Linked DNA regions of Homo sapiens: region 1 is linked to region 2. Evidence: promoter capture Hi-C in human tissues and cell types (Jung and others, 2019). All regions are on one chromosome and are shown on one strand. Each heading gives the region's core, a stretch centred on a gene start or on the middle of the fragment in contact. The rest is flanking DNA. Distances are from core to core; before and after follow the strand shown.

Region 1 (5,883 bases), core at 3,114-5,613, 160 kb before region 2:
CTAGTGTACTCTGAGTGGGTGTGGCCTGTCCCCTGCCAACACTGAACATGTCCGGACTATCTTCTGAATACTTTAAACTGGGCAGGGCTCTCCCTGGAGTATTCAGTTGGATGGAAGCTTATTTCCTGTGTTGTACGTGTTTCTCTGATGTAAGTGTACTGGACTTCTGTGCTGCATTTTTCAAGAGGGCAGGATCAGCTGGGCGCGGTGGCTCACACCTGTAATCCCAGCACTTTGGGAGGCTGAGGCAGGTGGATCACTTGAGGTCAGGAGTTTGAGACCAGCCTGGCCAACATGGTGAAACCTCATCTCTAACAAAATTACACAAATTAGCCGGGCGTGGTGGCATGCGCCTGTAATCCCAGCTATTCGGGAGGCTGAGGCAGGAGAATCGCTTGAACCGGGGAGGCGGAGGTTGCAGTGAGCTGAGATCACACCACTGCACTCCAGCCTGGGTGACAGAGCATAACTTCATAACTTCATCTCAAAAAAAAAAAAAAAAAAAAGCCGGGTGCAGTGGCTCACACCTGTAATTCCAGCACTTGGGAGGCTGAGGCGGGCGGATCACAAGGTCAGGAGTTTGAGACCAGCCTGACTAACATGGTGAAACTCCATCTCTACTAAAAATACAAAAATTAGCCAGGCGTGGTGGCGGGTGCCTGTAGTCCCAGCTACTTGGGAGGCTGAGGCAGGAGAATTACTTGAACCCGGGAGGTGGAGGTTGCAGTGAGCTGAGATCGCGCCACTGCACTCCAGTCTGGGCAACAGAGTGAGACCCTGTCTCAAAAAAAAAAAAAAAAAGAAAAAGAAAAAGGGCAGGGTGAGATCCCTAAGGTTCTGGGAGAGCAGATGCTGTCCTATGAGTATTTTAAGTGGGTGGGGTATTACCCGACTTTGTTAAAGGGGTGGGGCTGATGTTCTGAATGTACGTATAGATGGATAAAGCACATGCCTGTAGTCCCAGCTACTTGGGAGGATGTGCCTGACTCGTGCCCAAATAATCAATGTCAGTGATCACAAAACCTGGCTGGTAATCAGAATCATCTGTAGAAAATTTGAAAACTGAGGCCAGACATGGTGGCTCATGCCTGTAATCCCAGCACTTTGGGAAGCTGAGGCAGGCAGATCACTTGAGGTCAGGAATTCAAGACCAGCCTAGCCAACATGGTGAAACCCCGTCTCTACTAAAAATACAAAAATTAGCTGGACATGGTGATGTGTGCCTGTCAACCCAGCTACTCAGGAGGCTGAGGCAGGAGAATCACTTGAACCCAGGAGGTGGAGGTTGCAGTGAGCCAAGATTGCACCACTGCACTGCATCCTGGGCTACAGAGTGAGACTCCATCTCAAAAAAGAAAAAAGATAAGAAAATTTGAAAACTACACACATATTCCTGACTCTGACACAAATATTCTAGGTGGGTGGAACCAGTGACTTGGCCGTTAGGTAGTCTTTCTATTTGAGGCCAAATGAATGTTTGAAGTAGGTATGCTTTGTTTCCAGAATATTCCAAAAGTTAGATCGCTGGCCAAAATATTCAGAGTGGAGGCTGGGCGTGGTGGCTCACTCCTATAATCCCAGCACTTTGGGAGGCGGAGGCAGGCCAATTGCTTGAGTCCGGGAGTTTGAGACCAGCCTGGGCAACATAGTGAGGACCTATCTTCACTAAAAGTGCAAAAATTAGCCAGGTGTGGTGGTGCACACCTGTAGCCCACCTACTTGGGAGGCTGAGGTAGAAGAATTACCTGAGCCTGGGAAGTTGAGGCTGAGTGAGCCGTGATCACACTACTGTGCTCCAGCCTGGGCAACAGAGTGAGACCCTGTCAAAAAAAAAAAAAAAAAAAAAAAAAACGAAACAAAAAATCACCTGATGAAATAAATATTCAGAGTGGGAAGAGCTTGTGCTGAAAGCACTTAACGTGGGTAGCGCTCCCAGGGGGTGAGGCCAGAGGGGTCCTAGGCTTCCTAAAGAACGCATCATGATTCCCTGCCTTCCACCTCCCCTAGATCATTGCCTACCAGCCCTATGGGAAGTCTGTCGATTGGTGGTCCTTTGGAGTTCTGCTGTATGAGATGTTGGCAGGACAGGTAAGGGAAGGTGGGGAGAAGCTGGCTTGGCTAAAAGAGACAGAGAGGGGCACCTGGATCTCAGGAGGAGCCAGTTAGAAAGGAGCCCAGAAGGTTGTGCTCGAATAGCGCTGTCCATGGTTCTGAAGTGTTGTCTTAATGTAGACCAGGTGTTTTGTTTTGTTTTGTTTTGTTTGTTCTGTTACCATGGATTCTTTCTCCCTAGATGGTAAAGTAGCAGTCTGGTTAAGCCTATGGATCCCTTCTCAGAAGAATGTTTTTCAATGCACAAAATAGAATAATACATACGCAGAAAACCAAGGTTCAAATCCTCACTTTGCCACTTACTGGCTGTGTCAGCTTAGACAATTACATACATTCTAAATCAGCTTGATTGGATTCCTGGACTGCTGAGTGTACTACAACTAAAAAAATTGGTTACCACACTCTTGATCATCTTCTTAGCTGGCTATGGTAGTGGGCACCTATAGTCCCAGCTACTGGGGAGGCTGAGGCAGGAGGGTCACATGAGCCCAAGAACTCAAGGTTACACTGAACTATGAGTATGCCACTGTGTTCCAGCACAGGCGACAGAGCAAGACCCCATCTCAAAAGAACAAACAAACAAAAGAAATCAATCATTTTGAAAGATAGTCACCAAAACTTTTAAAATTTAATTGAATCTAACAACCAACTAAATTCAATGTATACAGTTGTCTAAATATTTAAAATTGGAAAATGGACATATGTGCAATTTCTTATTAATTCATTAAGTAGTAAGTTCTAATGGTAGTAAAGTAAAAAGGAGCTCTAACAGTAATTTTGATGTAGCAATGACTAATAATTTGGAATATCTGCAACTCTCATGTGATGAGAAAATACCTGTGATTACTATTGATAATGAAGCCACAAGCACTGCTGCTGCCTGCATTCATAACTGAAGGGAATGCTAAATTTTAGTTAGAAGTTAAAAAAAAATTTGGCCGGACATGGTGGCTCACGCCTGTAATCCAAGCACTTTGGGAGGCCGAAGTGGGCAGATCACTTGAGGTCAGGAGTTTGAGACCAGCCTGGCCAATATGATGAAACCCCATCTCTAAATCTTTGCCTTGGTATCATTTTTTGTAACCTCAGAAGACTGTGAACTACTCATCCAACCAGGAGAATGCTTTTAGGGTGTTTCCTGCAGTTTTTCCTCTCTTCTATTTAACTGACATGTTGCATAATTAACAGCCTGCTGATTTACATAGCAGATAAAGAGAGGCAGAATAGTACAGAGATGCACAGATCTGAGGCATCCGAGATAGGAAATGAGAGAACCTGAGAAGGAGAGAGATCAAGCTTTGGTGGTTTGGTCTGATCTCTCCTGAGGGTGTGGTCAGGTGTGCATGTGGGGCGTGTGATGGGTCAGGCATGTTCCCGGTGGGGTGAGGAGGGTGTGGAAGGTTTGGGGAAAGGCAGTTGGGCATGTCCCTGACTCTCTATCCCCTCCACTTTGATAGCCTCCCTTCGATGGGGAGGACGAGGAGGAGCTGTTTCAGGCCATCATGGAACAAACTGTCACCTACCCCAAGTCGCTTTCCCGGGAAGCCGTGGCCATCTGCAAGGGGGTGAGAGCCCCCTGACTCCCAGCTTCTCCAGGCTCACAACCACACACCCCATTGCTGTCTCTGTGCCTATTAGAAAAATGCTCCCATTCCTGAAGTCACTTTACTTCCATCTGTTGGAAAAGTTGATATGATGCATAGGTTTTGTTAGAACAATGATTTCCAGCCCTGTTGCCACGAGGCCTGGAGATGGCCTCTGTCTCATCCTTCTCTGTGACTCCCACTCCCCAGCTCCCTGCTTGCAGGAAGTGCTGAAAGTCCAGGGTGTCTGTCTGTCTAGAACTGGGTGGGTCAGGTAAACCCAACTTCTGCAGCTTTTCTTCCTGTGTGAACTTGGGTGAGTCACCAAAACTTTGTGAGCTTAACTCTCTTCAGGGGTTATGGAGTTGACACAGAAGAAAGCACCTGGCCCATAGCAGATTTTCAGCCCATGTCAGCACCTTCTGCGTCTAGCTGCTCTCTCTGCATCTCCCTGACAGTCTCTCTGGTTTCTGTCTCATGCCTCCCCTCCATCTGCATACGATGGGGCTCTCTGTGTTTCTTCCTTTTCTCTGTGTCTCCTTCTGCATCTCTGTCTACACTTTTGGGCCTTTGTCCAACCCCCCTACCCCCCATCTCTGTCCCCTCCTGTGTCCACTCTCATACACACACGCTACATCTCACCCTCCTCTCCTGCTGGCTTTCTGTCCTCCCTTTTCTCTGGGTCTCTGTCCCCATATTTGGTCTTTATTCCTCCCTCTGGGTGTGTGTTTCCTGGGTCTCTATCCTTCTCTCTTTCTGAATCTCTGTCCCCCTGGGTCTCCTCTGTCTCCTCCCTTCTCTGAGTTTCTGCCTTCTTACCTGGGGTCTCTGTACCACCCTCTGAATTTCTATTTCCCCTTTTCTCTGGGTCTGCAACCTCTCTTCCCCCATTCCCTCCCTCTTCCCCTTCATCTCCTCTACCCTTCCCTCCCTCCCCCTACCGACCTCCCTCTGTCCTTCACTCTCCCCTTCCCTCCCTCCCCCTACCCTTCCCTCTCCCCGTCCCTCTCTCCCCTTCCCTCTCTCCCCCTACCCCTTTTCCCTCTCCTCTTCTCCATCTCCCTCATGATTTGTTCTGTTTCTCTGTGTGTCCCTGGGTCTCTGGGTATGAATTTCATCTGCTATCATTTTCATGTATCCTCTCCTTCTTCCTGTCTCTCTCTCTCTCTCTCTCACTCACTCTCACCCTCTGTCTCTCTCTCTCTCTGTCCCTCTTCCTCTCTCTCTCCTCTCTGTCTCTCTCTGTCTCGCTCTCTGTCTGTCTCCCTCCTCCTCCTCCTCCCTCCTCCTCCTCCTCCTCCTCCTCCTCCTCCTCCTCCTCCTCCTTCTTCTTCTTCTTCTTCTTCTTCTTCTTCTTCTTTTCTTCTCTCTCTCTCTCCTTTCTTTTCCCTTCCTCCCTCCATTTGCCTGTTTCCCCTGGCTGTTCTTATCTCTCCGGATCTCATGCCTGTGTCTCTTGGTTCCTCCATCTGCCTGTCTCTGTCCCTCTTTCTCTGGGTCTACCTGTCCGGCACTCTGTCTGTTTGTCTGTCTGTCTCTCTCTGTGTTTCCCACAGTTCCTGACCAAGCACCCAGGGAAGCGCCTGGGCTCAGGGCCTGATGGGGAACCTACCATCCGTGCACATGGCTTTTTCCGCTGGATTGACTGGGAGCGGCTGGAACGATTGGAGATCCCGCCTCCTTTCAGACCCCGCCCGGTCAGTCACCCTCCAGGCAACAAAAACCTGGTCCCTGAAGGGGTGGGGTTCCCCTGGGCCTCAATATACCTGTATGTGGGGGTGGGGTTCCCTCTGCAGAGCCCCCCGCCCCCAACAAAAGGAGGTGCAGACACCATGAAGCATGAATAGAGATTCTGCAGGAGACAGGAGATGAGACTGGGGTACACAGAGGGACACCCGAGGAGCCCTCGGAGCTGCTTAACTTTCCCTCCCCCACGTCTCCCACAGTGTGGCCGCAGCGGCGAGAACTTTGACAAGTTCTTCACGCGGGCGGCGCCAGCGCTGACCCCTCCAGACCGCCTAGTCCTGGCCAGCATCGACCAGGCCGATTTCCAGGGCTTCACCTACGTGAACCCCGACTTCGTGCACCCGGATGCCCGCAGCCCCACCAGCCCAGTGCCTGTGCCCGTCATGTAATCTCACCCGCCGCCACTAGGTGTCCCCAACGTCCCCTCCGCCGTGCCGGCGGC
Region 2 (5,844 bases), core at 1-2,500:
CCAGGAGGTGGAGGTTGCAGTGAGCTGAGATCACACCACTGCACTCCAGCCTGGGAGACAAAGCAAGACTCTGTCAAAAAAAAAAAAAAATGCTCATCTAAGGTGCAAATGTGTGTAGGAGACGAGCATTACCCCACAAGGAAGGGCTGCACCCAGAAAAGGAGGAAGGAACTGAAGCAGACGAAGCACGTCGATGTCCACCGCACCCCCCGTGCACCAGGGAGGAACTGGGGCCTTAGGGAGGTGGAGCTCTGCTGGGTCAAGCCTAGAGTTTCTATGTAGTAAAGCCGAGATTATAACCCAGGTCATCCGTTTCACAGTGTGAGCTCTGTCTGAATACATCAGGTTCAATTGGAGGATGGTTAAAATCAGCCTAAGAATCGAGCTGGTCAGAAAATTGTCTTCTTGGGGCCAGGTGTGGTGGCTCACGCCTGTAATCCCAGCACTTTGGGAGGCTGAGGCGGGCGGATCACCTGAGGTCAGGGGCTCGAGACCAGCCTGACCAACATGGTGAAACCCCGTCTCTACTTAAAATACAAAAGTCAGCCGGGTGTGGTGGCCTGCACCTGTAGTCCCACCTACTCGGGAGGCTGAGGCAGGAGAATCGCTTGAACCTGGGAGACGGAGGTTGCAGTGAGCCCAGATCACGCCATTGCACTCCAGCCTGGGCTACAGAGTGAGACTCTGTCTCATAAATAAATGCATACATACATAAATAAATAAATAAGAGAGAGAGAGAAGAAAATTGTCTTTTTGCCCACAGCCTTGCACCCTGTAGATCCCTAAGCCCAGCCCTCCTCTATTCCGACGGAGGATGATGGCAGTACTGCGGTATTTAGCGGCTGCAGACTCGGAGACCCCACAGCAGCTCTGCCTTTCCCAGCGGAGTCTGTCCCCGTGTCTCTGCAGCGCGGCCTCCTCCTCGCTTGCATGTGGGCGGCAGAACTCACAGAACCCACAGCCCAGACCCACCCACCGCAGGTGTGCAACACCTGGAAGTCATTACTTCCACACACCGCATTTCCACCTGGACTGCCACTCCCACATGAGTTTTTCTCACCAGCCCAAGCCCATTCGTCCCAGTCCTGGAGACTCACCGAGGCAAAGCAGGGAGAGGAATTCTGCGGTCATAGCGTCCCTTCTGCCAGAACCAAGGCCCCGCCTTGGGTTTTACCCTTCAAAGGCGGAGCGGGACTGGGCCGGCCGCAGCTCTCCGGCTGCCCGGTTCGTCCCCAGGATGTGCAGATAGAGGAGGTTTTGCTCTGACACTCTGGTTCTCTGCCCCACTCTTGCAGTTTCCTTCTCACAACCGACTCAGGAAACAAGAAGCCGTCGATGATAACTTCTTCCCCATGAATCCGGTGTGTGTGGCCCCACCCGCCCGAGCTCTGTCCTACCTTATCTGAAGTTCTGCCAAGAGTTTTCTGTAAATGTAATTTTTTATTTTAAAACACTAATACCGGCCGGACGCGGTGGCTCACGCCTGTAATCCCAGCACCTTGAGAGGCTGAGGCGGGCGGATCACCTGAGGTCGGGAGTTCAAGACCAGCCTGACCAAAATGGAGAAACCCCCGTCTCTACTAAAAATACAAAATTAGCCAGGCATGGTGGCGCATGCCTGTAATCCCAGCTACTCCGGAGGCTGAGACAGGAGAATGGCTTGAACCCAGGAGGCGGAGGTTGCTGTGAGCCAAGATTGTGCCACTGCACTCCAGCCTGGACAACAACGGTGAAACTGTCTCAAACAAGCAAACAAACAAACATTAATACCTATAGCTTTATAGCTTCCGTGTACCCACTAGCCAGCTCCCCACAATGTTAACCTTTTTTTGGGGGGCGGGGGGGACAGAGTCTTGCTCTGTCACCCAGGCTGGAGTGCAGTGGCGCGATCTCGGCTCACTGCAACCTCTGCCTCATGGGTTTAAGGATTCTCCTGCCTCAGACTCCCAAGTAGCTGGGATTACAAGCATGCACCACCACACCCAGCTAATTTTTTGTAGAGATGGGATTTCACCATGTGGGCCAGGCTGGTCTTGAACTCCTGGTCTCTAGTGACCCGCCCACCTCAGCCTCCCAAAGTGCTGGGATTACAGGCATAAGCCACTGTGCCCGGCCAATGGTAATCTCTTATAATTACAGTACTTTTTTTTTTTTTTTTTTTTTTTGAGACAGAATCTCTGTCAGCCAGGCTGGAGTGCAGTGGCACAATCTTGGCTCACTGCAACCTCTGCCTCCCGGGTTCAAGCGATTCTCCTGCCTCAGCCTCCCGAGTTGCCGGGATGACAGGTGTCCGCCACCACTCTTGGCTAATTTTTTTTGTTCTTTTTAGTAGAAACGAGGTTTTGCCATGTTGCCCAGGCTGGTCTCGAACTTCTGACCTCAGGCGATCCGCCTGCCTCGGCCTCCCAAACTGCTGGGATTACAGGCGTGAGCCACCACGCCCGGCGTATGGCACATTTTCAAAACCAGAGACTTTGCACTGGCATCACACGTTTAACCAGGTTCCAGAGGTCACTCAGATCTCACCAGTTTGTGCATAATTCGTTTCTCTTTTTCTCTTCCTCTTCCTTCTATTTCTATTTCCTTTTCTCCTTTTCCTTCTTTTCTCCTGCTCTTCCTCCTCTTCCACCTTCTTTTCCTCCTCCCTTTTCTTTGCCTATGGGTATAGTTCTGTAACATTTTATTGCCTGTATGTATGGCTTTATAGAACCACCGCCACAATCAAGACACAGAACTGTCCCACCACCACGTAGGAACTCCCTCATGCTGCCCCTTTATAATCGCTCTCCCACCCTAGCACCTGCTAATCTGTTCTACGTCTCTATCACTTTGTCACTTTGAGACTCTTGTATAAATGGAATCGTCCATCGCCTCACCTTCTGAGGGTGACCTTTTTCACTCAGCACAATGCCTGTGAGATTCATTCAAATGGTTGTGTGTTATGATGATGGATACATTAGCCGGGCGTGGTGGCACACGCCCATAGTCCCAGCTACTCAGGAGGCTGAGGCAGGAGAATCGCTTGAACCCGGGAGGCGGAGGTTGCAGTGAGCTGAGATCACGCCACTGCACTCCAGCCTGGGTCACAGAGCAAGACTCCATCAAAAAAAAAGAATTATCTAATGGATACAATGTGTGTCACTGGGTTAGTGGATACCTGAAAGCCCTAACTTCATCATTTTGGAATCTATCCATGCAATAAAGTTACACTTGTACCCCATAAACGTATACAAATAAAAAATAATCGTCTGGGCATGATGACTTACCGCTGTAATCCCAGCACTTTGGGAGGCTGAGGCGGGATTACAGGTGTGAGCCACCATGCCCGGCCTATACTTTCTATCTTAATAACTACAAAAATAATAACTTGCTGGATGGGTCCCTGTGCCCACCCCGTCCTGTCCTAAGTGAGGAGGATGGGAAGAAAGCCATCGTCCTGTCCTGGTGCGGCTCTCAAACAGCTGGAAATGCTGGCTGCACAGGAAACTCTAAGGATCGGCAGCTCTAGCGCATGCTACCCTTGGCAGCTGTGTGGTCTGTGGATAGAGAAGGACCAACCTGTGGTTAGTGGAGGAAGAGGAGGAATATTGCTTTGATAAGCACATCCTCAGAGTTATAACAGAGGAGACAATAGTTATAAAATAAGAATGATATTTACGAAAAATAATAAGACTATTAACAAGAAACAGCAACAAATCTTGAAAACAAAATGTAACAACAAAACATAAATGTTGACTTTTTTTTTTTTTTTTTTTTTGAGACGGAGTCTCGCTCTGTCGCCCAGGCTGCAGTGCAGTGGTGAGATCTCGGCTCACTGCAACCTCTGCCTCCCGGGTTCCAGCAATTCTCCTGCCTCAGCCTCCTGAGTAGCTGGGATTACAGGCATGCACCACCACGCCCAGCTAATTTTTGTATTTTTAGTAGAGATGGGGTTTCACCATATTGGCCAGGATGGTCTCGATCTCTTGACCTTGTGATCCGCCCACCTCGGCCTCCCAGAGTGCTGGGATTATAGGCATGAGCCACAGCACCTGGCAACTGTTGACATTTTACATCTGCACCAGTAAGACTGGCTACCAATTACAAGCAAATGGATGCCATGGATAGAATGGAATTCCTGCCAAACTGGGTAAAATGTTGGAAACATATAAAATAAAATGTAAAAGAAATGTATTATAAATACAGGCTGGGCGTGGTGGCTCATGCCTGTAATCCCAGCACTTTGGGAAGCCAAGGTGGGCAGATCACTTGAGGTCAGGAGTTCGAGACCAGCCTCGCCAACATGGTGAAACCCCGTCTCTACTAACACACAAAAATTAGCCAGGCATGGTGGTGGGCGCCTGTAATCCCAGCTACTTGAGAGGCTGAGGCAGGAGAGTCACTTGAACCTGAGAGGGAGGTTGCAGTGAGCTGAAATTACGCCACTGCACTCCAGCCTGGGTGACAGAGTGAGACTCCCTCTCCAAAAAAAAAGAAAGAAAGAATGTATTATAAATACATATGACCAAGCACAGTGGCTAACGCCTGTAGTCCTGGCACTTTGGGAGGCCAAGATGAGAGGATCACTTGAGTCCAAGAGTTCGAGACCAAGTTGGGCCATATGGTGGAACCCGGCTTCTACAAAAAATACAAAATTTAGTCCGGCATGATGGCACACACCTGTGGTCCCAGCTACTCAGAAGGCTGAGATGGGAGGATTACTTTAGCCTGGGAGGTCGAGGCTGCAGTGAGCCGTGATCTAGCCACTACACTCCAGCCTGGGCGACAGAGTGAGACCCTGTCTCAAAATAAATAAATATAATAAATAAATAAATATGTATATCCCAATATTGGACTAAATGCTGGTCCAGAAGCACAAAATAGAAAGAACGGAGAGGAAGTATTAATAAATATTACACAGGAAGCAATGTTTTTCCCTTCGTGTGGAGGAAGAGTTCCCCGCAGGTGAGAGTCACCTACTACTCAATCTGACTCTGAAGTTTTAAGTATTGATTCAAGTTATCAAAAATGTATTAAGGGCTGGGCACGGTGACTCAAGCCTGCAATCCCAGCACTTTGGGAGGCCGAGGTGGGCTGATCACTTGAGCTCAGGTGTTCAAGACCAGCCTGGCCAACATGGGTGAAACCCCATCTCTACTAAAAGTACAAAAATTAGCTGGGCATGGTGGCAGGCGCCTGTAATCCCAGCGACTTGGGAGGCTAAGGCAGGAGAATCGCTTAAACCCAGGAGGTGGAGGTTGCAGTGAGCCGAGATCTTGCCATTGCACTGCAGCCTGGGTGACAGAGCGAGACTCCGTCTCAAAGAAAAAAAAAAAAAGTATTACGTGGCTCATTGTGCCCAATTCTGTCCTCTGTCCCCAGTGAAAAGTACAGGAAGAAGAAAGCCACCATCCTGCCCTACAGCAGATCCCAACAGAGCTGAGAGTGCAGGTTCCACAGAAAGCGGTTAAGGCTCAGCTGGTCCAACCCATCATTCCCTGGGCAGCTGTGGGATCTATGGCTAGAGAAGAACAGAGCTGAGCTTAGAGGGGAAGGAAGAGGAGGAAGATTGTTTTCTCCCGGCATCCAAACACAGCTTTTCAACCAGGGGGAGCACCACCCTCACTTCCCATCGCCCCATCCAGGGATATTTGAAAGGTATGAGAGTAGTGGCTTTTTTGTTGTTGTTGTTTCACAATAATTAGGTCTCCAACAGGTGTTCAATGGGAAAGGAAGTATTAGCAATGTCGAGTTACGTGTTCCTATAATGGACAAGACAGTCTCACATGGTGAAGGACTATTGCACTTTAAACACCATTTGTGGCCATGCCCGGTGGTGCACACCTGTAATCCCAGCACTTTGGG

The links. Contacts are between HindIII fragments. The study calls those that stand out against the background at their distance.
Region 1: a fragment that was not itself captured here is called in contact with the fragment with the promoter of VSTM1 in region 2 in 4 of the 25 tissues and cell types used here (liver, mesendoderm cells, spleen and 1 more).

The regions. Positions count from the first base shown.
Region 1 is chr19:53,901,066-53,906,948 of GRCh38, forward strand. It overlaps PRKCG (protein kinase C gamma), which reads left to right. Exons shown (of 18, transcript NM_002739.5): 15 at 2,008-2,088; 16 at 3,570-3,677; 17 at 5,252-5,392; 18 at 5,642-5,883. The coding sequence ends at 5,830. Among named protein-coding and RNA genes, the nearest start is that of CACNG7, 5.3 kb to the right of the region's middle. The HindIII fragment of the contact is 5,202 bases long and covers 1,763-5,883 here.
Region 2 is chr19:54,062,647-54,068,490 of GRCh38, forward strand. It overlaps VSTM1 (V-set and transmembrane domain containing 1), which reads right to left and starts at 1,251. Exons shown (of 9, transcript NM_198481.4): 1 at 1,098-1,251. The coding sequence starts at 1,131. The HindIII fragment of the contact is 40,052 bases long and covers 1-5,844 here.